Regions from separate parts of the Homo sapiens genome. Here region 2 is linked to region 1. The links are contacts of gene promoters, found by promoter capture Hi-C in blood cells and fetal thymus (Javierre and others, 2016). All regions are on one chromosome and are shown on one strand. Each heading gives the region's core, a stretch centred on a gene start or on the middle of the fragment in contact. The rest is flanking DNA. Distances are from core to core; before and after follow the strand shown.

The links. The method cuts DNA at HindIII sites, captures the fragments that hold promoters and counts their contacts. A CHiCAGO score of 5 or more calls a contact.
Region 2: a fragment that was not itself captured here is called in contact with the fragment with the promoter of AREL1 in region 1 in 1 of 17 cell types (fetal thymus); the score reaches 5.6 in fetal thymus.

What each region holds. Positions count from the first base shown.
Region 1 is chr14:74,708,821-74,715,681 of GRCh38, forward strand. It overlaps AREL1 (apoptosis resistant E3 ubiquitin protein ligase 1), which reads right to left and starts at 4,260. Exons shown (of 20, transcript NM_001039479.2): 1 at 4,113-4,260. It overlaps FCF1 (FCF1 rRNA-processing protein), which reads left to right and starts at 4,324. Exons shown (of 8, transcript NM_015962.5): 1 at 4,324-4,380; 2 at 4,665-4,732; 3 at 6,052-6,123. The coding sequence starts at 4,378. RefSeq lists an enhancer at 4,158-4,437. The HindIII fragment of the contact is 16,377 bases long and covers 3,775-6,861 here.
Region 2 is chr14:75,128,783-75,135,922 of GRCh38, forward strand. It overlaps TMED10 (transmembrane p24 trafficking protein 10), which reads right to left. Exons shown (of 5, transcript NM_006827.6): 4 at 6,978-7,104; 5 at 2,687-6,224. The coding sequence ends at 6,103. Among named protein-coding and RNA genes, the nearest start is that of NEK9, 5.3 kb to the left of the region's middle. The HindIII fragment of the contact is 170 bases long and covers 2,932-3,101 here.

The DNA.
Region 1 (6,861 bases), core at 3,010-5,509:
CCATGACTATTTAGTTTCTAATAGCTAAGTGAATACCCATCTTTCTCTATAAACCCTATCTTGTAGAACAGTCTTCAAAAGAGCCACCAGGAAAACATCACTATGGTGCTGTAACACCATATCAACAGCTCAGGCATGCGTGTGTGTACACACACATACATACACACAAACTGCAATAAGGTTAAACAACCTCAAAAGTTTGAAAACTACTATATGAAAGAACATTAGTGAAGGCTAAGCATTCAGAACCCTTCAAAGAAAAAGAAACCAAAGAAAAATAACTGAAATTTAAACCCAAGTTAGTTAATAGCTAAAGTCATTTAAAAGGTAAAACGGTCAGGCACAGTGGCTCATGCCTCTTCTCCCAGCTACTCAGGAAGCTGAGGTGGGAGGATGGCTTGAGGCCAGGAGTTCAAGATCAGCCTGGGCAACATAGCAAGATCTAATAAATAATAAATAAAAGGTAAAATGATACACTAGAGTCCATTAAGGTCATAAAATCTGATCTATTACATGGTACTAATATGTTGATAGTATTAAATAAATATTACACAACAGTACTCTGACCTGGACCACTTACAGAAAGATGAACAAGAAGAGTAATTCCTCTAAAATATTTCAACTCCCACATCTCTATTCAGCCACCAACCATACTTTACCTATTTACAAGTCTTTCTGTAATACAGGACTGTGGTGAGATTGCCCAGGACAGAATGGGCCCTCAATAAATGCTTTCTGAATGAATGACCAAGCGGCAGTAATCTATCTCTGAGGTATTCTTACAAACCAATTCAATATCAAGACCTCAGAAGCAGAACATGCTGTATGCCATGCTACCACATTTAGGGGCAGGCAAGTTAATTGAAAAATAATTAACAGCGACTAATGTTTGTTGGGAGAAAAAAAGTCCTATCATGTAAGTCAGAAAAATAAATGTAAAAACTATAACTTGAAAATGGACAAAAAAGTGAATCTACTTATAACTTTCTAACATTGAAATACAAGATGTTCTTTAAGGAGTCTTTCATTATCCAGAATAATTTTACAAAGAAATTTGATACCAACTTAAATTAGTAAGTTAGACCAATTAGTGAATGGAATGAAGTCCAAGCCCAATTATGTGTTCAAACTGTGTGTCCAATGCCTTGGGTGATTTTTTCTCTTCAAGACTGCAGAAAAATGCAAAACAACCCTCTTGACTGCTGAGAAGGACTAAAATCATTTCTTTTCCTCACAAGTATGTGCCCAAAAGCAATTACTTTCTGCTCCCATCCATCACAAATCAACACTACCTCCCAGCTTCGCATCCCCCACTTTCCATCCCCATCAAAGAATGCTGTAGAGTATCTGACCACTTTCATTTCACGCTATAAGAACCTCAGATTGCAATAAAATTACAATGCAACAAAAACAAATTTTTCTAAGTATGTTCTTATCCCCCATGGTGTTCCTACACTAATTTAGCTCCCTATTAGGTATTAACAATCAAGGAAATCAGAACACTCTCAATAGAGGTTACAATAGAAATTACAAATGGCCTTTTTTTAAGTTGTTGTTGTTCATGGATTCCAAAATTCAAAGTACACATTACCAGAAGAGCGTTTTTCTGTCAGTGCCTAAATTTAAATGCAAATTACTATTTAATGATATGCAATTTTCCCTCTGAACCTATATATAATACTAATGAGTCAAATGTTTAAGAAGAATAACTGACCATGTTATTTTAGCTTTTAGACAATAAAAAGCTTATTGTCTAATCACCAAGAGATACATCAAAAAACTGGTTGCTATTAGCTCTACACATGAATGGCAGCTTGACAGAGACAAGCTGCTCCAGAAAGATTAGGAACTTCTAGTGACCACAAATGGGGTAAAGCAGAAGGCACATACAGTATCTGTAGCTACCATTTCTACATCAAAAATTCAGTGCCCACAGATATGTAAACTATTAAGCCATCTAAATGAATGTGTGCCTGAAAGAGAAAGGAGAAGCAGAAAAAGTTTACACCCAAATCAACAGAAGAAATCACCCTGCGATTGAGCATCCCAGGACCTGAAAACTTAATGTTTTGAGGTTTATGAACACGTTCAAGTTCCAGTGCAACTATGTTAAAATAAAATTGGGCTGGTGCCAGGCACGGTGGCTCACGCCTGTAATCCCAGCACTTTGGGAGGCCAAGGTGGGCGGATCACCTGAGGTCGGGAGTTCAAGACCAGTCTGACCAACATGGAGAAACCCCGTCTCTACTAAAAATATAAAATCAGCCAGGCGTGTTGGCGCACGCCTGTAATCCCAGCTACTCAGGAGGCTGAGGCAGGAGAATCGCTTAAACCTGGGAGGTGGAGGTTGCAGTGAGCCGAGATTGCGCCATTGCACTCCAGCCTGGGTAACAAGAGCGAAACTAACTCCGTCTCAAAAAAAAAAAAAAAAAATTGGGGCTTGGCACAGTGGCTCACGTCTGTAATCCCAGAACTTTGGGAGGCCGAGGTGGGCAGATCACCTGAGGTCAGGAGTTTGAGACCAGCCTTGCCAACATGGTGAAACCCATCTCTATTAAAAATACAAAAATTAGCAAGGTATGGTGGCACACACATGCCTGCAGTCCCAGCTACTCGGGAGGCTGAGGCAGGAGAATTGCTTGAACCTGGGAGGGGGAGGTTGCTGTGAGCCGAGATTGCGCCACTGCACTCCAACCTGGGCAGCAGAGGGAGGCTCTGTCTCAAAAATAAAATAAAATAAAATAAAATAAAATTGGCATAAAATTCCAACCCTGCCACACATCCTCAAGTTGGAAGACACACAATGGTAACAACAGAAAACACTCTGAGTAGTCTGGTTTACACTCTTCTAGGGACCTCGCATGTTAACTATGAATAAACATAAGTCCTGATAACATCCCAATAAAAGAGTGCTACTATGATTATCTCCATTTTACAGATAAAGAAACTGAGATGCAGATAGATTAACTCACCCAATGTCATGGCGAGTTATAAGGCAGAGCAAGGATTTTAACCCCATCAGTCAGACTCCAAAGTTCGTGTTAAACAATAAACGTGTTTTCATCATAAGGGTTATACAATGGTCACCTTCTTTTTTAAACCTGATAACATATTTTACTTCCAACTCTAGGATAGCATCATGCAATAAGAAAAGTATGACAGAGGTACCCATTCCGTTCCCAGCTTGATCAGTAGCTGGAGAATGGAAGACAAAGTGCAAAAAAAAAAAAAAAAAAAAAAAAAAAAAGAAAAAAAAAGAAAGAAAGAAAGAAAGAAAAAGAAAAAAAGAAATACAAGTACAGACTTTGGAATCACGAGACTCAAACAGACCCCTGAACAAAGTCTGGGGCTCAATTTCCCCATATGTAAAATAAAAGAATTTATGTTATTGAGAAGGTCAAAGAAGGTAATATGAATAAAGTGACAAGTACAGTATACAGGATGGGGGTTTTCATTTAAAGTTTACAGACACCCAGAGGGTCCACGGATGGGCTTCAGAGTCCACCAATCTCATTAAGTGTATTACAAACTGTATGTGTGCCCATTTTTTAAAGAATTGTTCCTGGCTTTCCACAAACTTTCAAGAAATAAGTTATCTCCAAAAAGTTAAGAACCACTGGAATACATAGCAGGTACTCAAAGAAAAAAGCTACCTTTCGCTCCTTGTTCTCACAAATTCTCCCTTTTTACTTAAAGATGACACACCAAGGCTTCACAATAAATGTGCATTGTATCTCACCATTTTCTTGGCTTGGGTAAGTAGTAACATATGCAAGCTTATGCCCCAATTCTCTAGCGATAGTCTAGGCCCTCAAACACTGCTTCATTTCTCTCTTCACCGAGAGGAGTACACGGTATATACTCGAGAACAATCATCCACCTAGCTGCACAAAGCACCATATCGGCTAGGAAAACCAAATAGGAACCACAGCCTCAGGGCTGGACCATAGACACCGGATACCCCAACGCTACAGGGTGAGGAGAATGTGTTCCCCCAAACTACTGGGCAAACCAGGAGTCTGAACCCCCCTACCCTTTTCCTCCCTCTCTCTCTGGAACTCTGGTAAAGGCAGGTCTTCTGGGCTCTGCCTAAGGCTGGAGAGAAACGTTACCCGAGCCGGGGGTTGCAGCGCGACGAAGTTCCACCTCCGCTGTCCTGGGAAGGGGCGGCAGCACTCAGCAGAAGACGGGCTCCCCACTCTCCCACCAACAGACCCCAGAGTTGGTCTCCACCCGGCCTGGGAACCGGCTCGGGGGATTGCCCTTTCCCCAAGGAGTTTCCGCTTCCGGGCTATCCTTTGCCGGAAGCAGTATGTGAATGACGTAGAAGTATTGCGCCGTTGGTGATTACGGAAGAACCAGGAGTTTGGCGTGACCATGGTGAGAGAAGACGGTCCAAGAAGGGACGTTATCAGGCCACTTTTTGGGTGGAGAAGGAGGTAGTCAGACCGTGGCCAAATTTCCTTCACATTATCCTAGCATATTTTCATTCTGGTCTTAGCTCTTAAACTTCTCCAAGCGGTGACTGTTATGCTTTACAGAGTGGGGAAGAGGGTCTGGGTTATTTGAGGCAAGAAGGGAAGGCAATAGACAAGAGAAAAGAAGAGACTTTAAAAGATGCCGTGTGTTTCCAACTTTTTTAATTCTAAAATTTCTGTTTCAAGGGGAAGCAAAAGAAAACAAGGAAGTATGCGACCATGAAGCGAATGCTTAGTCTCAGAGATCAGAGGCTGTGAGTGTCTGGAATCAACTGCCCAGGGATATTCTAATAAGAGTCTAGAGAGGATAAGTAGTAAAAATGTTTGTTGTTATTATTTTGTTTTTTGCTTATTATCGTGTCTTAGATTTATATAGCATGAGATAGCCAGTGTTTAACAGTAATTTAGCTGCTGAGCGATCACACTGGGAAAGGCGATGGGAATTAAACATTTCTTAAGTGTTCACTTTTTCTACCGTTATATGCTTTGTCTGCCATATCGCATTTAAACCTCATGTCAGTTCGGTGAAGTCCGTATAGTTCTCTTTATGTTTTTACCATTACACTACTACATTCCCCTGGGGTGGGGCGAGGGGAGTGTTTCTTGTTGAAAGATGGCAAGGTTAGAGACCTTGTTTGTCTGGCGTTTCCAGTGCCTGGTACTCAAATATTTTTGTCAGAGAAAATGGGAAAACTCCAAGATATCTCCATTTTATAAGTCTTACTAATATAAGAATCCAAATCACTGTGGAAGAAGAAAGTGAAGTGAAATTCCCTAGTATGAAGAGGATCAAAGCGGTGTCCCTGCTTAAGTGTAGAATAAGCATAGCTATTAAATAAAGACTGATCTTCACTGAGTTTAAGAGTCTCAGAAAGCCGGGCGCAGTGGCTCACGCCTGTAATCCCAGCACTTTGGGAGGCTGAGGCGGGTGGATCACCTGAGGTGAGGAGTTCAAAACCAGCCTGGCCAACACGGTGAAACCCTGTCTCCACTAAAAATACAAAAAAGAGTCTCAGAATAAGAGAATAGTCGTTAAAACCTTCAGAATTATTATTCTCAGCCTTTAGTGTGGATGTATTGTGTAATTTTTAGGAATGACACTCCATTAATAATAATTTCTTTCTAGTTAAGGGTTAAGTTCTGTATATGCGTTTTTACATTTTAGCCCTTTATAAGAAGCATATGGGGTAATACTTTTCCCCCAAAAGTTAAAGCATCTGAATCTTCAGAAGATAACTGTCACCCTTTTACCCATTGCTTGGAAGTGGATTGTGATCCTTGATGTGAGAGATTCTGACTAAAAAATAAATATAGTATAATCAGCTTTTATTTACTCATTAACAATTCTTATGCATTATTGGCATTACTGGTTAATTCTGATACTTCCAGGTACTGTGCTTTGCACTAGAGTTATTTGCTCAGAAAGAGTATGCTGATATTAACATGAGGATATCACAAAGTAGGATTTCTTCAGTAGACCAAAAAAAAAAAAAAATGGAACTTTAGATTTTTGAGATTTTAATTGCTGTGGTTTTTCTTCTCCCTTGGATTTAATTTACCTTTTTCTTCCTAGTAAAGAAAAGGATAGATTAAAACCTAAAAAGAAAGAAAAGAAGGATCCCAGCGCATTAAAGGAAAGAGAAGTGTGAGTAATCAAACGTTTGAAGTTTTCCTTTAAAACCATAGACCTCTTAGAAATCCAGGCTTTCCCTGAGCTGGTTTGCTAACTTATTTGTTAGTAAGTCTAGCACAACTATGTAGATGAAAGTCATATCGATGAGCATATATCAATTCTAGTGGTTTGAAGGTTTTGGGATTTTATGGAGCAGTAAAATTTCCCCTAAAATCCTGGAGATATTATCTAGGATTATTAACTTTTTCTTTGCCAGGGATCTTTTAAGAGACATAAGTGCCATTGTTTAACACACCAGCAGTTCATAAAAGAGAGACTGTATCACCAAAAAATATTTAAAATATATTTTCAGAATAAAGATATTTATATAAAGATATGACCTTTATATAAAGATATAAAGGTATTTCATTCCTTTTAAGTAAGTACATTTAACTTTATGAAAACTTTACCACATTTTCCTTATTTTTCTAATTTTTCCCTGGATTGGTAATGGACATATTATCACAGGTAGATACTGATCCATGGCCTAGCATTTGGAATCACTGTCATATTCAACCCAGACAACTTGGGCTAGATGTGATACAGGTCCTGCTGTAGTATATAATCCTAACACTAGACAAACTGTTCTCTATCACATTCCATAACAGCAGTTTTAGAATCCTTTAAGAATGACAAACGTGTTGTTGTATCATTCTAATCACGATAACTGTATTCTACCTCCCTGTGCCCATGGTGATTCTACTTTTGCTA
Region 2 (7,140 bases), core at 1,767-4,266, 420 kb after region 1:
CCACCAGGCAATTAAAACAGTTTCTATAAGGGCTATTAAAGTGCAAGATTCTAGAGAGGCATTTAGGAGTGGCATCTGTCCAAGCCAAACTTGCTGTGTGAGTGCAGGAATATACAAAATGTTAAGTCTAAACAAAGTAGAGAGATCATTTCAGGTAGAGGCCATTCCATCTACATCCTCCTATTAATTAGAAGGCACTTTGAGGATAGGTATTGCCTCTTGTTTATCTAGATAAACTCCAGAGTTTAGTTTGGCTTAAATCTGTTAATTCTATTAACTTAATTCTGTTATTCTCGATTAACTCTGTTAAACAGAAAAGATGCTCAATAAATTGTTTCTCAGTTGAATGGGAAAAAACCAATTACTTAAAATTGGGAATGCTGACTTTCAAAGAGGCTGAATAGATTTCAGCCTAAGCTTAAAAATTCATTTTTTTCTGGCACCTTTGCAACGAGGAACTAGTTTTCTATAACGTGGTTGGCCTGAAACTGAATTGTTCTAATGATAATGCATAGATACTACAAGCCTAGAAGAAACATGTCCTATTATAGAGCAGAGACATTCCTGCTGAATTCTTCATTATATTGGATATAACTGAAACTAATTGTCTTACCTTTGAATATTTATAAGTTCAAAAATAGTCAACATTTATTCTAATGGTATAACTTTTTTTTTTTTTTTGGAGACAGTCTCACTCTGTCACTCAGGATGGAGTGCAGTGGCATGATCTCAGCACACTGCAGCCTCCACCTCCCAAGTTCAAGTGATTCTCATGCCTCAGTCTCCTGAGTAGCTGGGATTACAAGCGTCCGCCACCATGCCCAGCTAATTTTTGTATTTTTAGTAGAGAGGGCATTCTGCCATGTTGGCCAGGCTGGTTCTCGAACTCCTGACCTCAAGTGATTGGCCTGCTAAAGTGTTGGGATTACAGGTGTGAGCCACTGCACCTGGCCAAGGTGTAAAATTTTAAAGCGCCTTTGGTTGAAACCAAACTATTTCCACATTGTACTTTAACAAGTGAATGGTTAGAATGCTATTTTGCATTAGTTTCCAATTTGTGAATGGCAAATTCCCAGGGGCCATAGAGTTACTGTCAAGATGAAAGAATCTACCAAAGACCAACCCAAGTTTATACCCTTCACTGTCTGCCACGGTAGCCATTAGCTACATATAGCTACTCAACACTTGAATTGTGGCTAGTCTAATTTTAAGCTATAGATGCGGTATAGCTTGAAATGCACACTGGATTTTCAAGATTTTATATGAAAAATGGAATGCAAAACATCTCATTAACCATTTTTATATTAACTATATGTTGAAATAATATTTTGGGTATATTAGGTTAAATACACTACTAAAAATAATTTTCGGCTGGGCACAGTGGCTGATGCCTATAATTCCAGCACTTTGGGAGGCCAAGGTGAGCAGACCACGAGGTCAGGAGTTCGAGACCATCCTGGCCAACATGGTGAAACCCCATCTCTACTAAAAATACAAAAATTACCTGGGCGTGGTGGCATGTGCCTGTAATCCCAGCTACTCGGGAGGCTGGAGAATCAGCAAATTTTACCTGTTTTTTACTTCTTTAATGTGATACTAGAAAATTTAAAATTATACATGCAGCTCAACATTTTATGAGACACCACTGCAGCAGACTAAATAAATGATTTATAAAGCATGTATTGGGCCGGGCACGGTGGCTCACGCCTGTAATCCCAGCACTTTGGGAGGCTGAGGTGGGTGGATCACGAGGTTGGGAGTTCAAGACCAGCCTGGCCAACATAATGAAACTCCATCTCTACTAAAAATACAAAATTAGCTGGGCGTGCTGGTACATGCCTGTAATCCCAGCTACTCGGGAGGCTGAGGCAGGAGAATTGCTTGAACCCGGAAGGCGGAGGTTGTGGTGAGCCGAGATCATGCCATTGTACTCCAGCCTGGGCAACAAGAGTGAACTCCGTCTCAAAAAAAAAAAAAAAGAAAAGAAAAAAAAATTATACCCCAATAATGGGAACCACTACTTTACACACTATGGATTCATAATAAAATTTATTTGAGGGAGAATGGAGATAAGAGGATAAATAAGAGGCCAGCCAGTGGGTGTGCAAAGCACTTCATATTGGCTCTTGGAAAGTCGCTTTGTGAAAAATGTTCAACTGTAAGTGAAAGGAGAGGAGAAAAGACGTTTACCTCCTGGAGTGGGGTTTTGCATTGGATATGATAGGCCTAAAAAGTGAGTCCTGAGGATTCATATACCGGGGGTGGGGGGTGGGGGTCTTTTAGGAATGAAAGGCAGGGGAGATGGCTCTCTGTAGGAGTGATTCTATGCAATTGCAATTTTAATTGCAAAAACCACAATTACTTTTGTGCGAACCTAATAGTAACAGTTTCCAAAAGAGAGAAGATAAAGAGAATAAAATGCCTAGCTTACAGAACCATATTTGGTCTGAGGATGCATAATTAAGGATTCTTAATTATATATATATATATAATTTACATATATTACATACAAAATATGATAATCTTTTACTAGCTCATATAAACTATCGATCTGCAGTAACTGAAGAATAACAATATTTTTTCTCTAATTCATCAGGTATAATTTGCCATAATTTAAAAGAGAAATATGGAAGAATTATCACCAATCCAGACATAGAAGTACTCAAGAGTAACAGTACACCTAAAATGGTTTCTGCTAGCCTTTATTTGAGAAAATTTACACAAAAATCCCCAATCCAACATTTACAAGTGAATCTGTATAAATCCCATATGCCTCTTTCCCAAACAAACCAAGAAATGGCTTTATGACAGGGGTCCATGACAATGGTATAACAAGGCTTACTTAAACTGCATCATTCTCATTTATATTATACAGACCATTTTGGATAATATGCTCAAAAATGGAGGAAAGCACATAACACCCGATTTTAAAGCTTATTTGCTCTTGTGTCAGTCTTTTGTCAAAGGCAAATACATTTACTTTTTAGATAAAACCAAAGTATAATATCAATTAACTTTTAAACCAAAAGCACAAAATGTCCCAGTTGATAGTTTCGGCATGAGTAAAGGGAAGGGACATGAAAGAATGTCAACTCCTACAAAGCTTAAGTTTAGGGTCACACTTGGGAACAAAAGCATCAACGAAATAAAATATTCTCTTCTCCTATCTTCTTGACATTTTGTCACATCACAAGAACATAACTAAGAGAGTAGCTTTCGTTGCTCCTAAAAAGGGGAAAGGCACCAGTCAGAAATAGGAAAGAAAATCTTGTTAGGCTAACGGTACATGATAGAAATTTCACATTTAAAAGTTTAAAGATGGAGGCTGGGTGTGGTGGCTCACGCGTGTAATCCCAGCACTTTGGGAGGCTGAGGCAGGCAGATCACTTGAGGTCAGGAGTTCGAGACCAACCTGGCCAATATGGTGAAACTCTGCTTCTACTGAAAATACAAAAATTAGCCAGGCATGGTGGTGTGCACCTATATTCCCAGCTACTCAGGAGGCTGAGGCAGGAGAATTGCTTGAACCCAGGAGGTGAAGGTTGCAGCGAGCTGAGATAGTGCCATTGCACTCCAGCCTGGGCGTTGCAGCAAGACTCCGTCCCCCCCCCCCCAAAAAAAAAAAAGTTTAAGGATGTATCTTAACCCACATATTATTTTCTCTACTTGGATGCATCCTCTGTAACTTAGTATATGTAATACTACAGATAGACTTTCTCAACATTTGCTGCCTATGCTAAGGATCTGCAGCCAGGTTCTCAGAAGCAGTACCTACCAATTCTCAACAGCAGATGGCAATGTTGTACAAGTTAACGACAGAACTACTTTTATGCCACAGGAGAGGAAGACACAAGGAGTCAAAAGGGGGAAAAAAAAAGTTTGGGTTCATAGTAGCAGGAACATTAACAGAATAGCCTGAGATTTTAACAGCATAACTCATTCCCTCTTCCACCTTTGTACTTTATCCAGGTCAACACATCAGGGTTCTCTAACGATTCCAGTATTCTGTTTCTTTACTGTAAGATACATGTAATTCTTGCCACTGTGATTAAACAAGCCCTGTAATAGTCAGCAGGGTTAAAAAGAGATTACGGAAAGGATAAACTCCTACCTACTTTCTTGGGAGATGTGGGAAAGATTTCAAGTCACAGCATTTTTCATAACTGTTTATAAACAATGGTCATTTATATCCACACTTTCTCTTATTTACATTAGTTTTGGCCCTTAGGCAACTCATACTCCTACAGTGATTATTGGCTTTGCTTTCATAACATGTATTTTTAAGTATTTACTCTCTTAATGGCCCTCGATGTCTATTTTATACATCATATCTCTTAATTCTCTAGATGGAACACTGAAGGACAGGAATTAAGTAAGTGACTGGCCATGCAAGGGTTGGAAATTTTACTTATTTTTCCTTGGTAGAAGTTATGTTAAAAATTCAAGCAACCACATATCTAACAGAGGAATTTTATCTAGGATATATAAAAAACCTCTCAAAACTCAATAGTAAAAAGAACAAATGACCTAAATAGAAAATAGACAAAAGACATGAAGACATTTCACCGAAGAGGATACATAGATGGCAAATTAGCACACAAAAAGATACTCAACATCATTAGCCATTGGAAATGCAAATTAAAACCACATGTGGTATCATTACACACATCTATGTGAATGGTTAAGATAAAAAATAGTAGTAATACCAAATGCTGGTGAGGATGTGAAGAAACTGGATCAATCATACATTGCTGTCTGAATTGTATGAGTGGCTGTATGTAAAAAGTAGAGCCACTCTGGAAAAAGAGTAGGGTAGTTTCTTACAAAAATATATGTGTTTACCATACAACCCAACAGTTGCCCTTTTGAGCATTTATCCCAGAAAATGAAAATGTATGTTCACATAAAAACCTGTACATGAATGTTCACAGCAGCTTTATTAGGGCAAAAAACTGAAAACAACTCTTATGTCCTTTAGTGGGTGAATGGTTAAGCAAACTGTGGTACATCCATACCATGGAATACTACTCAGCAATCAAAAGGAACTGCCCCCACTTCACCACGATGCAATATATGCATGTAAGAAATCTGTACTTATACCCCCTAAATATATAAAACATTTTTAAAAGAAAAAAAGGAAGAAACTATTCATACATGCAACAACTTGGATGGATTTCAAGGGAATTATGCTGAATGAAAAAAGATCAGCCTCGTAAGATTACATTCTGTATGATTCCATTCATACAACATTCTTGAAATGACAAAATTACAGAGATGGAGGACAGAACAGTGGTAGCCACAGGTTGGGGTGAGGGTATAAGAAAGGGATGTGGCTGCGGCTGTAAAAGGGCAGTGCAAGGGATCCATGTGACAGAACTGTTCTGTCTCTTGTGATGGTGGTCACATGAATCTACACATGTGATAATATTGCATAGAATTAAATACACATACACGAAAAAAGTTCAAGCAGTTGAGCACAAATATTTTAATTGTCTAAAATGACATTTTCTTTAAGAGTTATCTACAGTTCAAAGCTCACTTTTATGAGGTGTCACATCCATCACCATTTTAAGAGATATAAAATCATGAAAAGATATCACCAGAAGCTATGTAAACATTTCAGCTAAGGGTAAAGAGAAAGTTAAGGGTGTTTTCACAAGGAAATTGAAAGAGGGCAATCCAAATGAAGTCAACATGGTCACACAAAAATCTTGGTAAAAGAACTAGAATGGAAGCCCAAGCTGCTGAGCAAGTGGGAGAAGAAAAGAAAACATAGTCCAAACAGATCACACAAGGGAACCCAGGACAAATGCTGACTTTGGCATTATCTAGGTAACCCCTATTTTTTGTCATAGGTGACTCTAATAATAGACCTATTGTTGCAAAACCAGTCAAAATCCTACCAAATTAAAAAGAAGTCCCTCATTGACTTGTTGGGTGTAGGTGGTACCCCATGTCCTCCCACACCAAAAGAGATCAGTTCTGGCAAGAAAGCTCCAACGTGCCTTGATGGTGCTGTTGGTAGGATGCCTTAGGCCAGGCACGTCCCAGCGATGTTCTGCTGGCTGAGGTACAAGGTGGGAGGAGAATATGCCTCATTCATTACTCAATCAATTTCTTGGCCTTGAAGAAGCGTCGCAGGTAGAAGACCTGCCAGGTAGCTAGTCCAATGAGACAGAACATTGAAAAGATGCTGAAGTATAGGACCCGAGTGTTTGTTGACTCTAAAAAAAAACAAAAGCATTGTAAACATAATGAAGTGAGCCTCCTCAGCTGGCTAAACAATGGCAGGGGAGGTGGGTAAAGGCAATTAATTAACTTCACTCTGTCCCTAGGTCTAACAGTAGGATTTCAGATAATTTTTCTTTTTAAGTTCATTATCCTGGCTGGGCATGGTGTAATCCCAGCCTGTAATCCCAGCACTCTGGGAGGCTGAGGCAGGCAGATCATGAAGTCAGGAGATCGAGACCATCCTGGCTAACTCTGTCTCTATTAAAAATACGAAAAATTAGCCAGGCATGGTGGCTTGTGCCTATAGTCCCAGCTACTTGGGAGGCTGAGGCAGGAGAATTGCTTGAACCCAGGAGGCGGAGGTTGCAGTGAGCCGAGATCGCACCACCGTACTCCAGCCTGAGCGACAGAGCGAGACTCCATCTCAAAAATAAGTAAATAAATAAAAATAAAAGTTCATTATCCTATATATAAATGTTGAAAATTACAAAGATTGGTGCTATCAGTTTGATGTGGGTATAGACTAATTGAGGATGTTGTCACCTGCCTATCACAGTAGGAGTTTCTACTCTCTTGAAAATCTAACAAGGCTCATTTACCTTTAGCAGCAACAACAGCGAAGCAAGCAATTTCCCCTCCATATACCCACCTTGGCAAAACTGAGAAAAGGGTACACCAGAATTGAAAGTTTGGAGACTGTCTCATTTATGGGTCACTTAAGAAGTAAGAGTCGCCTTCCCCCTCACCGTTGGTATCACGCATCTCCTCTTCTCTCTTCTTCATGTAGGCAAAATCATTAACAATAGATTCTGAAAGGTCTTCTAGGCGTCGCAGCTCTACCTCTAATGGTTTGAGCTTCTCAACTTTTGCAATCTGGAAAAGAATGGAATATTTTCAGCTCTCTGAAAA